Regions from separate parts of the Homo sapiens genome. Here regions 2 and 3 are each linked to region 1. The links are contacts of gene promoters, found by promoter capture Hi-C in blood cells and fetal thymus (Javierre and others, 2016). All regions are on one chromosome and are shown on one strand. Each heading gives the region's core, a stretch centred on a gene start or on the middle of the fragment in contact. The rest is flanking DNA. Distances are from core to core; before and after follow the strand shown.

The links. The method cuts DNA at HindIII sites, captures the fragments that hold promoters and counts their contacts. A CHiCAGO score of 5 or more calls a contact.
Region 2: a contact is called between a fragment that was not itself captured here and the fragment with the promoter of HSD17B10 in region 1, in 1 of 17 cell types (neutrophils). The highest score is 6.1, in neutrophils.
Region 3: a fragment that was not itself captured here is called in contact with the fragment with the promoter of HSD17B10 in region 1 in 3 of 17 cell types (neutrophils, total B cells and activated CD4 T cells); the score reaches 10.0 in neutrophils.

Annotation. Positions count from the first base shown.
Region 1 is chrX:53,432,720-53,437,129 of GRCh38, reverse strand. It overlaps HSD17B10 (hydroxysteroid 17-beta dehydrogenase 10), which reads left to right and starts at 2,760. Exons shown (of 6, transcript NM_004493.3): 1 at 2,760-2,811; 2 at 3,244-3,408. The coding sequence starts at 2,785. The HindIII fragment of the contact is 11,572 bases long and covers 1,465-4,410 here.
Region 2 is chrX:54,049,061-54,053,470 of GRCh38, reverse strand. No RefSeq gene overlaps it. Among named protein-coding and RNA genes, the nearest start is that of PHF8, 6.8 kb to the right of the region's middle. The HindIII fragment of the contact is 2,601 bases long and covers 896-3,496 here.
Region 3 is chrX:54,032,525-54,036,934 of GRCh38, reverse strand. All of the region lies in intron 2 of PHF8 (PHD finger protein 8), which reads left to right. Among named protein-coding and RNA genes, the nearest start is that of PHF8, 9.7 kb to the left of the region's middle. The HindIII fragment of the contact is 5,057 bases long and covers 1-4,410 here.

The sequences.
Region 1 (4,410 bases), core at 1,511-4,010:
ACTTATAGGACGCATGCATTATTCTGGGAAGGGGTTCCTAAGACTTCACCAGACTCCCATAGGTGTCCGTAGCATAGAAAAGGATGAGAAACACTGCTCTGAAGAGTAACCATAGCTAACACTTATATAGCTCTTGCTAAAGGCCAAGCACTGTTCCAAGTCCTTTTTAAATACATAGTTGTTAACTCATTTATTCCTAACAACCCTACGAATAGTCATTTGTTTATACTCATTTTACAGAAGAGGAAACTGAGGCACATCAGTTAAGTAACTTGTCCAGGGTCATTCGGCTAGTAAATAATAGAGCTGAGGCTGGGCGCGATGGCTCATGCCTGTAATCCCAACACTTTGGGAGGCTGAGGCAGGGCGGATCACCTGAGGTCAGGAGTTCAACACCAGACTGGCCAACATGGTAAAATCCCATCTCTACTAAAAATACAAAAATTAGCCAGGCGTGGTGGCCCATGCCTGTAATTTCAGCTACTCTGGAAGCTGAGGCAGGAGAATTGCTTGCACCCAGGAAGCGGAGGTTGCAGTGAGCCAAGATGCGCCACTGCACTCCAGCCTGGGCAGCGGGAGACTCCATCTCAAAAAAAAAAAAAAAAGCGGTAGAGGGGAAGAGATCCAAGACAACTCGAGAACATGGTCAGAGAGAGAAAAGATGGTGTGTAGATGCTGGGGAGGGCAGGAGGTTATTCCAGGGAATGACAAGTGCAATAAGGTGGCCTGGACAGGTGGTTAAAGTAGAGAGGAGGTGAAGGTTCCCGGAGTTGGGCAGGTGAAAGAATCATGAAACTGTGCCTGGAAATTCTTCCAAGATTAATTCATTAATTCATTTATTTCACACATTTGTTTTAAGTGTCTTGTACACGCCAAGCAGTGTTCTCGGCATTAGGTGAACCAGCTGGACAAGCCCCTGGTGCCATGGGGCTTACCTTCCAGCAGGGGGAGAACTACACAAACAAGGCCAGGTTAGCGGAGCATGCAGGCTCACAAGCCTGTAGGCACAATCCTGCAATGCCAAAACTTCTGAAAAGCATAAGGTTGTTTTTTCATACTTTGGAGCCCAAACTCAATAGATGACAAAACCTGACCTGAAGTAGTGTGAGGCTATTTATAGTCTTTATTCACACTTGGTGTGAATTTTCATACCTTTCACTTCAGAAATATTAATATTTCATTACGATGCTCCAGGCTTTTCTCAATAGTTATATAATATAGACTATACAAAAAGTTATGTTTGACTAGTTTTTTTAAAGAGTTATGTAATATAAATTACATGTCTTCCTTTCTCAAATTGAAAAAAACTCTGAATTCCACAGCACATCTGGCCCTAAGGTTGGAAAATGGATTACGGACATGCAAGTGCTATGAAGATAATTCAAATATGCAATGGGATAGTGTCTAGGTGGCTACAGTTTGAATATTTAGGGAGGACCCCTCTGGGAAGGTGATATTTAAGCTTAGTTCTGAATGAAAAAAAATAAAAGCAGTCATGCAAAGATCAGGGGAGAGCATTCCAAGCAGAGGGAGCAGCTAATGCAAAGATGAACACAAAGGAGGCCACTGTGGCTACAGCATATTGGGCCGGATGAAGAGTGCTATAAATTGATGGAAGCACTTCATGTAGATAGGAAAATTGTGAGACCGGTGTGCTAAATCCTTTGGTAAATACGGTGTAGTGATTATGAGTGTGGTGGCTGTCAACAACTAGAAGGCCTGGAGGGGAATCTTCCTGGGTGAGAAAGCAAGTGGGGGGAGATATTTCAGATAGAGAAAACATAAAGCAGTTCTGAGGCTGAAATGGTGGGCTAAGATTTATGGCCTGAAGACCTTGGTTTGAGGAAAAGTATAGAAGGAAGACAGATTAGATATCTGGGCTCAAGACTCTAATGACATAGCTTCTGGAAGCTGCCTGAAAGATGTTCTAGGATGACAAAGACCTGGGTCTTAAATAATAGTCTCTGGTTGAAGTCCAATCTGCAGTGTGTGATCTGGGCTTTTGGACTTAAATTAGACAAAGATAGAGGAGAGTAGCAAAGCCTGAACTGATGAAAGATGTTTTTGCCTCTTTAGGTTTGTGCTTCTCAGCAGCTGTCCTAGAATGTCTGTCTCCAAGCATCTCTCTTAGCGGCTTTCCACATTCATCTCTCTGTGATCCTACCTGGCATCTCTCTTCCTATCTCGGCCTCAACATATTTCTCTTTACATGGCTCTCTCTCTCTCTAACTCAGACTCCTCATCTTTGGATCTCCTTGTCTGAGTGTCCCAGAATCTGGTTCCGTCCATTCGTCTGTGTCTGTACTGTAATTCTCTTTCTCCACCTGGACTGTGCCCTCCTGGAAGGCATGAATCTTTTATTATTCCGCTGGGTATCCCAGGTGCCCCGCACACCGTCTAGCATATAGGAGTCTCAAATACATTCATACTTGAATTAAGACTTTTTCAGAGGAGAAAGGCATCCGTTCTCAATATCCACCCCTCTTCCCCCACGCGGAGCAGGCCACTTGCCAAAAGGCCAGCTAGAGAGTAGGGCGAGGGGTGTTGTGGTATTGTACTTCTGCTATTGGTCTCTTTCCCCAGTTGAAATAACTCTGGGGATACCTTAGCAGGCGGAATCCGCCCTCTGGCCAAAGGACTAGCGTACCAGGCCACGCCCCCACGTCTCATGCGGCAGCGGCAGACGCCCCGGCCCGTCGCATCCGCCCCTTCCGCCGCTTCGCCTCGGCCAATCAACGAGCGCCCGCGCCCCCATCCCCATCCCGTGGAGTGGCCGGCGACAAGATGGCAGCAGCGTGTCGGAGCGTGAAGGTAGAAGGTTCTTTGCCTCTGTTGCTTGCCTTCCTTTACGGGCCGGGACAGCGCGGCCGTGGAACTAGGAGAAAGAGATCGGTTTCGAGGGAAAGGGTCATGCTTATGTAGGCCTGGTATTGTGGCCGTTGGGCTCAAGAGGTGAAAGTCAGCACTCCGCGGCGCATCTGTCTGTCTGTCTGTCTGTCTATCTATCTATCTATCAATCATCTATCTATCTATCGTCACGGGACGGGCTGTCTGGGGATGAGATCCCTTCTGCCCCCGAGGTCCCAACGCTGAGGAGAAGCAGCACACCTAGTTTACCCGCAGGGGTGACCACGACCTCTCCCCTCCCCCCTTCTCCTCAGAAGCCTGGAGAACAGGCAGGCGACAGCGTGGGGATGGTCTGGGCAATGTAACAGCTGACCCTGACCATGTCCCTTTTGACAGGGCCTGGTGGCGGTAATAACCGGAGGAGCCTCGGGCCTGGGCCTGGCCACGGCGGAGCGACTTGTGGGGCAGGGAGCCTCTGCTGTGCTTCTGGACCTGCCCAACTCGGGTGGGGAGGCCCAAGCCAAGAAGTTAGGAAACAACTGCGTTTTCGCCCCAGCCGACGTAAGTGGGGTCACCTCTCCTCTCCCAGGGTGTGCATGAGGTCACCAACACCGGCCTGGGAACCTGTGGGGGTCCCTCCCATAAGGGTCTCCTCTATGGGGGCGGTAGACCCATCTCCTTGTCTCTTTTGGCCTGAGCCTTCAAGCACTGTGGGACCACCTGTGATAAGGATTCTCTAAAGCTGGGATTCACAACAATGAGGATGGGGATTGGACGTAACAATCTCCTGGAGGAGTTATGTATGGTTTGAAAATGCATTTTGTGCCTTGTAATTTTATATTTACAAAGTCAAAAAACTTGTTTTCATGAAACAAACTACAGAAAGTGAAACTTGATGAAATCATCTTAGCAGGTAAGGATACAAAAAAGCTAGTTTATCTTCCTATCAATAATTCTCACAAGAGGGTTATTTTTTATTTTTATTTTTGAGATGGAGTCTCGCTCTGTTGCCCAGGCTGGAGTGCAGTGGCACAATCTCAGCTCCTTGCAACCTCCATCTTCTGGGTTCAAGCGATTTTCCTGCCTCAACCTCCCAAGTAGCTGGGATTACAGGCACCTGCCACCACGCCCAGCTAATTTTTTTTTTTGTATTTTTAGAAGAGATGGGGTTTCACCATGTTGGCCGGGCTGGTCTTGAACTCCTGATCTCACGTGATCCGCCCGCCTCGGCCTCCCAAAGTGCTGGGATTACAGGTGTGAGCCACTGCACCCAGCCTCACAACAGGGTTGCATTAGTGCTCTGATCCACAGCAATTAAGAATCTTCAGGAGCATGTGAATTTATCAAGAAGGTATTGATTTGAAAAATGTTTTTGCAACACTGCTCTATATTACCTAATATTTTCACCTTTGACCTACTCTCTCAATTTTTTTTTTTGGGACAGAGTCTCACTGTTGCCCAGGCTGCAGTGCAATGGCACGATCTCAGCTCACTGCAACCTCTGCCTCCCGGGTTCAAGCGATTCTTCTGCCTCAGCCTTCCAAGTAGCTGGGATTACAGGCA
Region 2 (4,410 bases), core at 947-3,446, 620 kb before region 1:
AAATTAGCCGTGCATGGTGGCCGGCAGCTGTAGTCCCAGCTACACAGGAGGCTGAGGCAGGAGAATTGCTTGAACCTGGGAGGCAGAGGTTGCAGTGAGCCGAGATTGCACCACTGCACTCCAGCCTGGGCGACAAAGCGAGACTCCATCTCAAAAGAAAAAAAAAAAAAGAAAAAAGGAGGGGAAGTGTAATTAAAGATCCCAACCTAAAAAGGTTTTTTCCTGTGGAGCCAAGATGGCCGAATAGGAACAGCTCCAGTCTACAGCTCCCAGCATGAGCAACGCAGAAGACGGGTGATTTCTGCATTTCCAACTGAGGTACCAGGTTCATCTCACTGGGGAGTGCTGGACAGTGGGTGCAGGACAGTGGGTGCAGCACACCGTGCATGAGCCGAAGCAGGGCAAGGCATCGCCTCACCTGGGAAGCGCAAGGGGTCAGGGAATTCCCTTTCCTAGTCAAAGAAAGGGGTGACAGACGGCACCTGGAAAATCAGGTCACTTCCACCCTAATACTGCACTTTTCCAACGGGCTTAAAAAATGGCACACCAGGAGATTATATCCCGCATATGACTAGACCAATAACAGGCTCTGAAATTGAGGCAATAATTAATAGCTTACTAACCAAAAAAAGTCCAGGACCAGATGGATTCACAGCCGAATTCTACCAGAGGTACAAGGAGGAGCTGGTACCATTCCTTCTGAAACTATTCCAATCAATAGAAAAAGAGGGAATCCTCCCTAACTCATTTTATGAGGCCAGCATCATCCTGATACCAAAGCCTGGCAGAGACACAGCAGAAAAGCGAATTTTAGACCAATATCCTTGATGAACATTGATGCAAAAATCCTCAATAAAATACTGGCAAACCGAATCCAGCAGCACATCAAAAAGCTTATCTACCATGATCAAGTGGGCTTCACTCATAGGTGGGAATTGAACAATTAGAACACATGGACACAGGAAGGGGAACATCACACACCGGGGACTGTTGTGGGGTGGGGGGAGGGGGGAGGGATAGCATTAGAAGATATACCTAATGCTAAATGACGAGTTAATGGGTGCAGCACACCAACATGGCACAGGTATACATATGTAACAAACCTGCACGTTGTGCACATGTACCCTAAAACTTAAAGTATAATAATAATAAAATTTAAAAAAAAAGTTTTTTTCCTAGGCCGGGCTTGGTGGCTCACGCCTATAATCCCAGCACTTTGGGAAGCCAAGGTGGGCAGATCACTTGAGGCCAGAAGTTGGAGACAAGCCTGGCCAACATGGTAAAACCCCGTCTCTACTAAAAATTAAAAACAAAAAAAGCCAGATGTGGTGGTGTGCGCCTGTCTGTAATCCCAGCTACTTGGGCGGCTGAGGCAGGAGAATCGCTAGAACCTGTGAGGCAGAGACTGCAATGAGCAGAGATCACGCCACTGCACTCCAGTCCAGCCTGGGTGACACAGCATGACTCTGTATCAAAAAAAAATTTTGTTTCCTTAAAAAAAATGTTTTTACTTATAAAACATAGTAAGTGTAATAGTAATGCATGAATAATGACAAATTACAGAAAAATATTTTTGTTATAATTTTACATGATTTTTTTTTCTTTTGAGACGGAATCTCACTCTGTTGCCCAGGCTGGAGTGCAGTGGCACGATCTTGGCTAACTGCAACCTCTGCCTCCCAGGTTCAAGTGATTCTCCTGCCTCAGCCTCCCTAGTAGCAGGGATTACAGGTGTGCACCACCACAGCCTACTAATTTTTGTATTTTTAGTAGAGACGGGGTTTCACCATGTTGGCCAAGTCGGTCTGAAACTCTTGACCTCAAGTGATCCACCTACCTCGGCCTCCCAAAGTGCTGGGAATACAGGTGACAGCCACTGTGCCCGGCAAAAATAGTGTTATTAATATATCATGATCATAAGATTTTTCTGACTCCCTTTTCTGCAAATTCAATTATTTGGTCATCAACATTTTTAGCAACTTCATTTTTTTTTTTTTTTTGAGACAGAGTTTCACTCTTGTTGCCCAGGCTGGAGTGCAATGGCGTGATCTCAGCTCACCACATCCTCCCGCTCCCAGGATCAAGTGATTCTCCTGCCTCAGCCTCCCAAGTAGCTGGAATTACAGGCATGTGCCACCACGCCCAGCTAATTTTTGTATTTTTAGTAGAGATGGGGGTTTCACCATTTTGGTCAGGCTGGTCTCGAACTCCCAACCTCAGGTGATCCACCTGCCTCCGCCTCCCAAAGTGCTGGGATTACAGGCATGAGCCACCGGCCGCAACTTCATTTTTTTTTTTTTTTTTTTTGAGACAGAGTTTCACTCTTGTTGCCCAGGCTGGAGTGCAGTGGCGTCATCTCGGCTCACTGCAACCTCCGCCTTCTGGTTTCAAGTGATTCTCCTTCCTCAGCCTCCCGAGTAGCTGGGATTACAGGCACCCACCACCACACCCAGCTAATTTTTTTTGTGTTTTTAGTAGAAATGGGGTTTCACCATGTTGGCCAGGCTGGTCTCGAACTCCTGACCTCATGATCCGCCCACCTCGGCCTCCCAAAGTGCTGGGATTACACGCGTGAGCCACTGTGCCCGGCCACATTCATTTTTTTTTTTTTTTAAGACAGGGTCTCACTTTGTTGTCCAGTCTAGAATGCAGTAGTGGGATCACAGCTCACTGCAGCCTTGACCTCCTGGGCTCAAGGAATCCTCCCGATTCAGCCTCGTCAGTAGGTGGGACTACAGGTGCGCACCACCATGCCTGGCTAATATGTTAATATTTTTATTTTTTATAGAGACGAGGTCTCACTTTGTTGCCCAGGCTGGTCTTTTTTTGTTGTCGTTTTATTTTGTTTTGTTTTGTTTTGAGACAGCATCTCACTCAGTTGCCCAGCCAGGAGTGCAATGGGAGATCATGGTTCACTGCAGTCTTGACCTCAAAAGCTCAAGCAATCCTCCCACCTCAGCCTCCTGAGTAGCTGGGACTTCAGGCACGAACCACTACACCCAGCAAATTTTTTGTTTTTTAATTTTTAGTAGAGATAGGGTCTCACTTTGTTGTCCAGACTGGTCTCAAACTCCTGGGCTCAAGCAATTCCCCGTCTCGGCCTCCCAAAGTGTTGGGAGTATAAGTATAAGCCATTGCGCCTGGCCTGTCTCTTCAATTACAGGGAAGAAACTTTTATATTGTCTTCTTCATTGATATTTTATCTGAAACTTTTCATTTAATGTGTCTTTTGTGACAATCTTTAATTTTAATTTCTATTTCTAAGCCTTTGGATATTTGTTTTGCTGTGTTGCACCAGTTTTTAAAACCAGAGATTCTAAACTCTTTGAAAAATTATAATAATCCTCTCCATACACTTTACTGCAATGTCCATGGGTACTCGTTTATTTCATAATCATTTCCTTGCAAAGTTTACTGCCTGAGTGCCAGCAGTTCCTGTGCCAGTATGCAGGCCAAAGCGTTAATCTTTGTACAGGCCCTGGTGACAGGACAAGCTTGCCTCTCACAACAGGTCTCCTCACTGTTCCTGCACAGAGGCCCTCCTCTCTCCCAGATCTATAGCCACTGCTACCTGTGCTGCTGCTTTTGCTACTGCTGCCACTGTAGTCACTGGCTTGACGTCCCCTCTGGGCCCTGATGTCCCCCTCTGGTGTGTTTCTGCACACCAGGCGGCCTGTCAAACTGCTTGGTGGCATGCACATTGCCTGCAGTTTCCATAGGCTGTGGGTGCTGCCACTTAGCATATCCCTTCTGCTCATGTCCATGATCCATTGTCACAGTGGACTACACTTAGAAAAGACAAGCTCAAAGATAAAATTATCAATTTCAAGACAGCCACAGCATTACATTAAACCAAGCCTAAGGCCCCTTCTAGGAGCAGAGCTCGGTGAACAGGCACGCCCATGAAGCTGGCCCTGGAGGCGTGGGTTGGTGTTCTCCATTGCTTAGTTTGGCACCTGGGGCACCATCCTGCTAGTTTTTATTTCAAGTGTGTGCAAACCACATTTTGTTTCTGTGTTTCAAATTATGCAAAGAACCATTAATTGATTACCTTCCCATTACATTTATACACCAGTTGCTGTTAAATCCACACTAGTGGTATAAAGGAGTGGTTAAGAGCCTGGTCTCTGAGCCTGTATCACCAGGAACCCCTGCTAGGATACAAACTAGCTAAGTGACCTCCAGCAAGTGAATTAAAGTTTCTGTACTCAGCTTCATCATCCATACAATGCTAACAGTATTGATATCTACTTCATATGGTTGTTCTAAGGATTCAGTGACTTAATGCTTGTAGCGAGTTTGTAACAGTGCTTAGCACAGTAAGTTCTCAGATAATGTTATTTAGTATTATTTTGTCTTTTGTTTTTACTGTCCTTGTACTTTCAAGTCTGTTTCAGAGGACACCTGTTT
Region 3 (4,410 bases), core at 1,048-3,547, 600 kb before region 1:
TCCACCTCCCGGGTTCAAGTGATTTTCCTGCCTCAGCCTCCCTACTAGCTGGGATTATAGGCGCTCGCCACCACGCCCAGCTAATTTTTTGTATTTTTAATAGAGATGGGGTTTCACCATGTTGGCCAGGCTAGTCTCGAACTCCTGACCTCAGGTGATCCACCCGCCTCGGCCTCCCAAAGTGTTGGGATTACAGGCGTGACCCACAGCACCCGGCCTTTCTTTCTTTTCTAATGTAAGCCTTTAGCTGTTAAGTTTCTTCTCAGCACCAATAGATTTTAATATGTTACATTTTCCCTTTTCATGTAGTTCAAGGCATTAAAAAAAAAAAAAGTTTTTTTTTTTTTTTTTTTTTTTTTTTTTGAGACAGTGTCTCAGTCTGTTGCCCAGGCGGTACTGCAGAGGCAGGATCATAGCTCTCACTGCAGCCTCCAGCTCCTGGGCTAAAGTGATCCTCCTGCTGCCTCAAGGCATTTTTAAATTCCCCTTGAAACTTCCTGTTTGACCCATGAAGTATAGAAGTATGTTGTTTAATTTTGAAGTTTTTGTAGAGTTTCCTGTTATCGTTCTGTTACTGACTTCTAGTTTGATAGTGGTCAGAGAATATACTTTGTATGATTTCAATTCCTTTACATTTATTGAGATTTGTTTTATAGCCCAGAGTCTATCTTGGTAAATGTTTCATGATCACTCGAAAAGAATGTGTATTCTGCCATTTTTGGGTAGAGTGTTCTATAAATGTCAATTAACTACTGTTGGTTAATGGTGTTGCTGAATTCTTCTAATCCTTGCTGATTTTTTCTTTTTTCTTTTCTTTTTTTTTTTTTTTTTTGAGATGGAGTTTCGCTCTTGTTGCCCAGGCTGGAGCGCGATTTGGCTCACCGCAACCTCCGGCTCCCAGGTTCAAGCGATTCTTCTGCCTCAGCCTCCTGAATAGCTGGGACTACAGGCATGTGCCACCACGCCCAGCTAATTTTGTATTTTTAGTAGAGACGGGGTTTCTCCATGTTCGTCAGGCTGGTCTTGAACTTCTGACTTCAGGTGATCCGCCTGCCTCGGCCTCCCAAAGTGCTGGGATTACAGGTGTGAGCCACTGCACTCGGCCTACTCATTCATTCATTCATTTATTTTTGAGACAGGGTCTCTATGTCACCTGGGCTGGAGTGCAGTGGTTTGATCATGGTTTACTGCAGCCTCAAATTCCAGGGCTTAAGCAATCTCCTCATGCTTCAGCCTCTACAATAGCTGAAACTGCAAGCATGTGCCACTGTGTGCCCTAATTTTTAAAATTTTTTGTGTGGGGAGGGTGTGGGTGTAGGTTGGTGGTACCTCCCTTTGTTGCCTGGGATGGTCTTGGACTTCTGGCTTCAGATGATCCTCCCACCTCAGCCTCCCAAAGTGCTGGGATTACAGGCATGAACTACTGCTCTTGGCCCGAGTTATCTCTGTATTGCTTTTTTCAGTACTTGCTCTAGGTATTACATTATACATATAACTTACCATAAGCAACTGCTCTTGACATTTTACCAGTTTGATTGAAGAGTAGAAACTTTACTTTTCTTTTTCCTTTTTTTTTTTGAGACAGAGTCTCACTCTGTCACCCAGGCTGGAGTGCAATGATGTGGTCTCGGCTCACTGCAACCTCTGCCTCCTGGGTTCAAGCGATTCTCCCACCTTAGCCTCCCGAGTAGCTGGGACTACAGGTGTGGTCCACCATAGCCGGCTAATTTTTGTATTTTTAGTAGAGACGAGTTTTCACTATGTTGACCAGGTTGGTCTCGAACTCCTGACCTCATGATCTGCCCGCCTCAGCCTCCCAAAGTGCTGGGATTACAAGCGTGAGCCACCATGTCCGGTTGAAACTTTACTTTTCTTTATATGCCTTAATGCTCTTTTGTTTATAATCTAATTAATCGTTTTGTTGTTGTTGAGACAGAGTCTTGCTGTGTTGCCCAGGCTGGAGTGTAGTGGAACAGTCACGGCTCACCTGCAGCCTAAACCTCCTGGGCTCAAGTGATCCTCCCACCTCAGCCCCCCACCCCCCAGTAGCTGGGACTACAGGCATGCACCACTATGCCTGGCTGATTTTTTTTTTTTTTTTTTTTTTTTTTGAGACGAAGTCTCGCTCTGTCGCCCAGGCTGGAGTGCAGTGGCGTGATCTCGGCTCACTGCAACCTCCGCCCCTCCAGGTTTAAACAATTCTCTGCCTCAGCCTCCAGAGTAGCTGGAATTACAGGCGCCCGCCACCACGCCCAGCTAATTTTTTGTATTTTTAGTAGAAACGGGGTTTCACCATCTTGGCCAGGCTGGTCTTGAACTCCTGACCTCAAATGATCCACACGTCTCGGCCTCCCAAAGTGCTGGGATTACAGGCATGAGCTACTGTGCCCAGCCTACTCATTCTTTTAGGATAAGTGTTGGCAACAGATACGTTTAGTTTTCCTTAATCTGAGAATATCTTGATTTCCCTTGAATTCTTAGGGGATCTTTTCACTTCATATCGAACTCTGGGTTTCTAGTTCTTTTATCTCAGCGCTTGAAAACTGTTCTGCTACTTCCTTTTGCCCTCCATGGTTTCTGATGAGAGAGCCTCTGTCATTCAAATTGGTGTTCTCCTTGAGGTAATGTGTCATTTATCTCTCATTGCTTTCAGGATTTTTCCTTTGTCTTTTGCTTTTAGGAATTTGATTAAGCCATGTCTTAGTGTGGATTTGTTCCGGTTTGTCTTTTGTTGTAGTCCTGTAGGTTGCTGAGGCTCTGTTCATTTTTTTTCCAATCTGTTTTCTTTCTGTTGTTCAGATTGGATAATTTCTATTGTTCTATCTTCAACTTACTGATTCTTTTCTCTGTTTTCTCCATTCTGCTGTTGAATTTTCATTTAAGTTACTAAAGAATTTTCATTGTTACTGTATTTTTCAGTTCTAAAAATTCTGTTAGATTCTTTTCTATATCTTCTATTTGTTTGAAGAGATTTTCTATTTTTTGTTGACACTTTCTTTTTTTTTTTATTTGAGACAAGAGTCTAGCTCTGTGGCCTAGACTGGAGTGCAGTGGTGCAATCTTGGGTCACTTCAACCTCCACCTCCTGGGTTCAAGTGATTCTCCTGCCTCAGCCTCCCAAGTAGCTGGGATTAAAGGCACATACCACCATGCCTGGCTAATTTTTGCTGACACTTTCTATGTATTTATTTATTTTATTATGATGATGATGATTTTTTTCTGAGATGGAGTTTCACTCTGTTGCCCAGGCTGGAGTGCAATGGTGCGATCTCGGCTCACTGCAACCTCTGCCTCCCTGGGTTCAAGTGATTCTCCTGCCTCAGCCTCCCGAGTAGCTGGGATTACAGGCACATGCCACCACGCCCAGCTATCTTTTGTATTTTTAGTAGAAATGGGGTTTCACCGTGTTGGCCAGGCTGGTCTCGAACTCCTGACCTCGTGATCTGCCCACCTCAGCCTCCCAAAGTGCTGGGATTACAGGCATGAGCCACTGTGCCCGGCGACACTTTCAATTTATTCATTTGTTTCAGGCATGTTCTTAATTGCTCATTGAAACATTTTTATGATGGCGCCTTTAAAATTCTTAAATAATTCCAACATCTGTGTCATCTCAGTCTTAACATCTGTTGATTTTCTTTTCTTATTCGAGTTGTGATTTTCCTTGTTCTTGGTATGACAAATAATTATTTTAATTATATTCTGGACATTTGGGGCATTATGTCACGAGATCCTGGATCTTATTTAAGACTTCTGTTTTTGCAGGCCTTCTCAGACACTGCGCTCCGGTGGCAGAAAGGGGGTACCACTTCATGACTGCCAGGTGGGGGTGGAAGTACAGGTTCCCCACTTGGTCTTTGGTGCTATCCACCACCTGCTAGGTGGGTGGATCCTGCTGTCTCTAGTCGGTCTGCTTTCTTCCCTTCACCTTTCAGAGTTTTATGTTTGTTTTGTATATATTGTCCAGGGTTTTTAGCTGTACTTGGAGGGATAGGGAGGAGTGCATCTACTTCATATTGTTCCAGAACCAGCAGTGATAGGTTAAATAATGTGCCCAAAGCTACACAGACAGCTGGACCACAGATCAAACCTGGGTCTCCTCTACTTTCACTGTAGAATACAGTATTATAGACAATATAAGCACTGTTTAAGTTGTTAGAAGTTATGGAAGATAGGGAAAATCAGATATGTGCTATGTGCCAGGCATTGTTCTGGACACCGGGGTGGGGGAGGGGGGATACGGCAGTGAACATGAGACAGTAAACTAACAGCTTAATATATAGTGTGTCAAGTGATAATACATGGTCTAGAGAAAAGTAAAGTAGGGTGAGCAGGAGAAGGAGTACCACCCCAGGGTTGAAGTAGTGGTTACTTTATACAGGATGATTACAGATGGGTTACCTATGAGCCTGA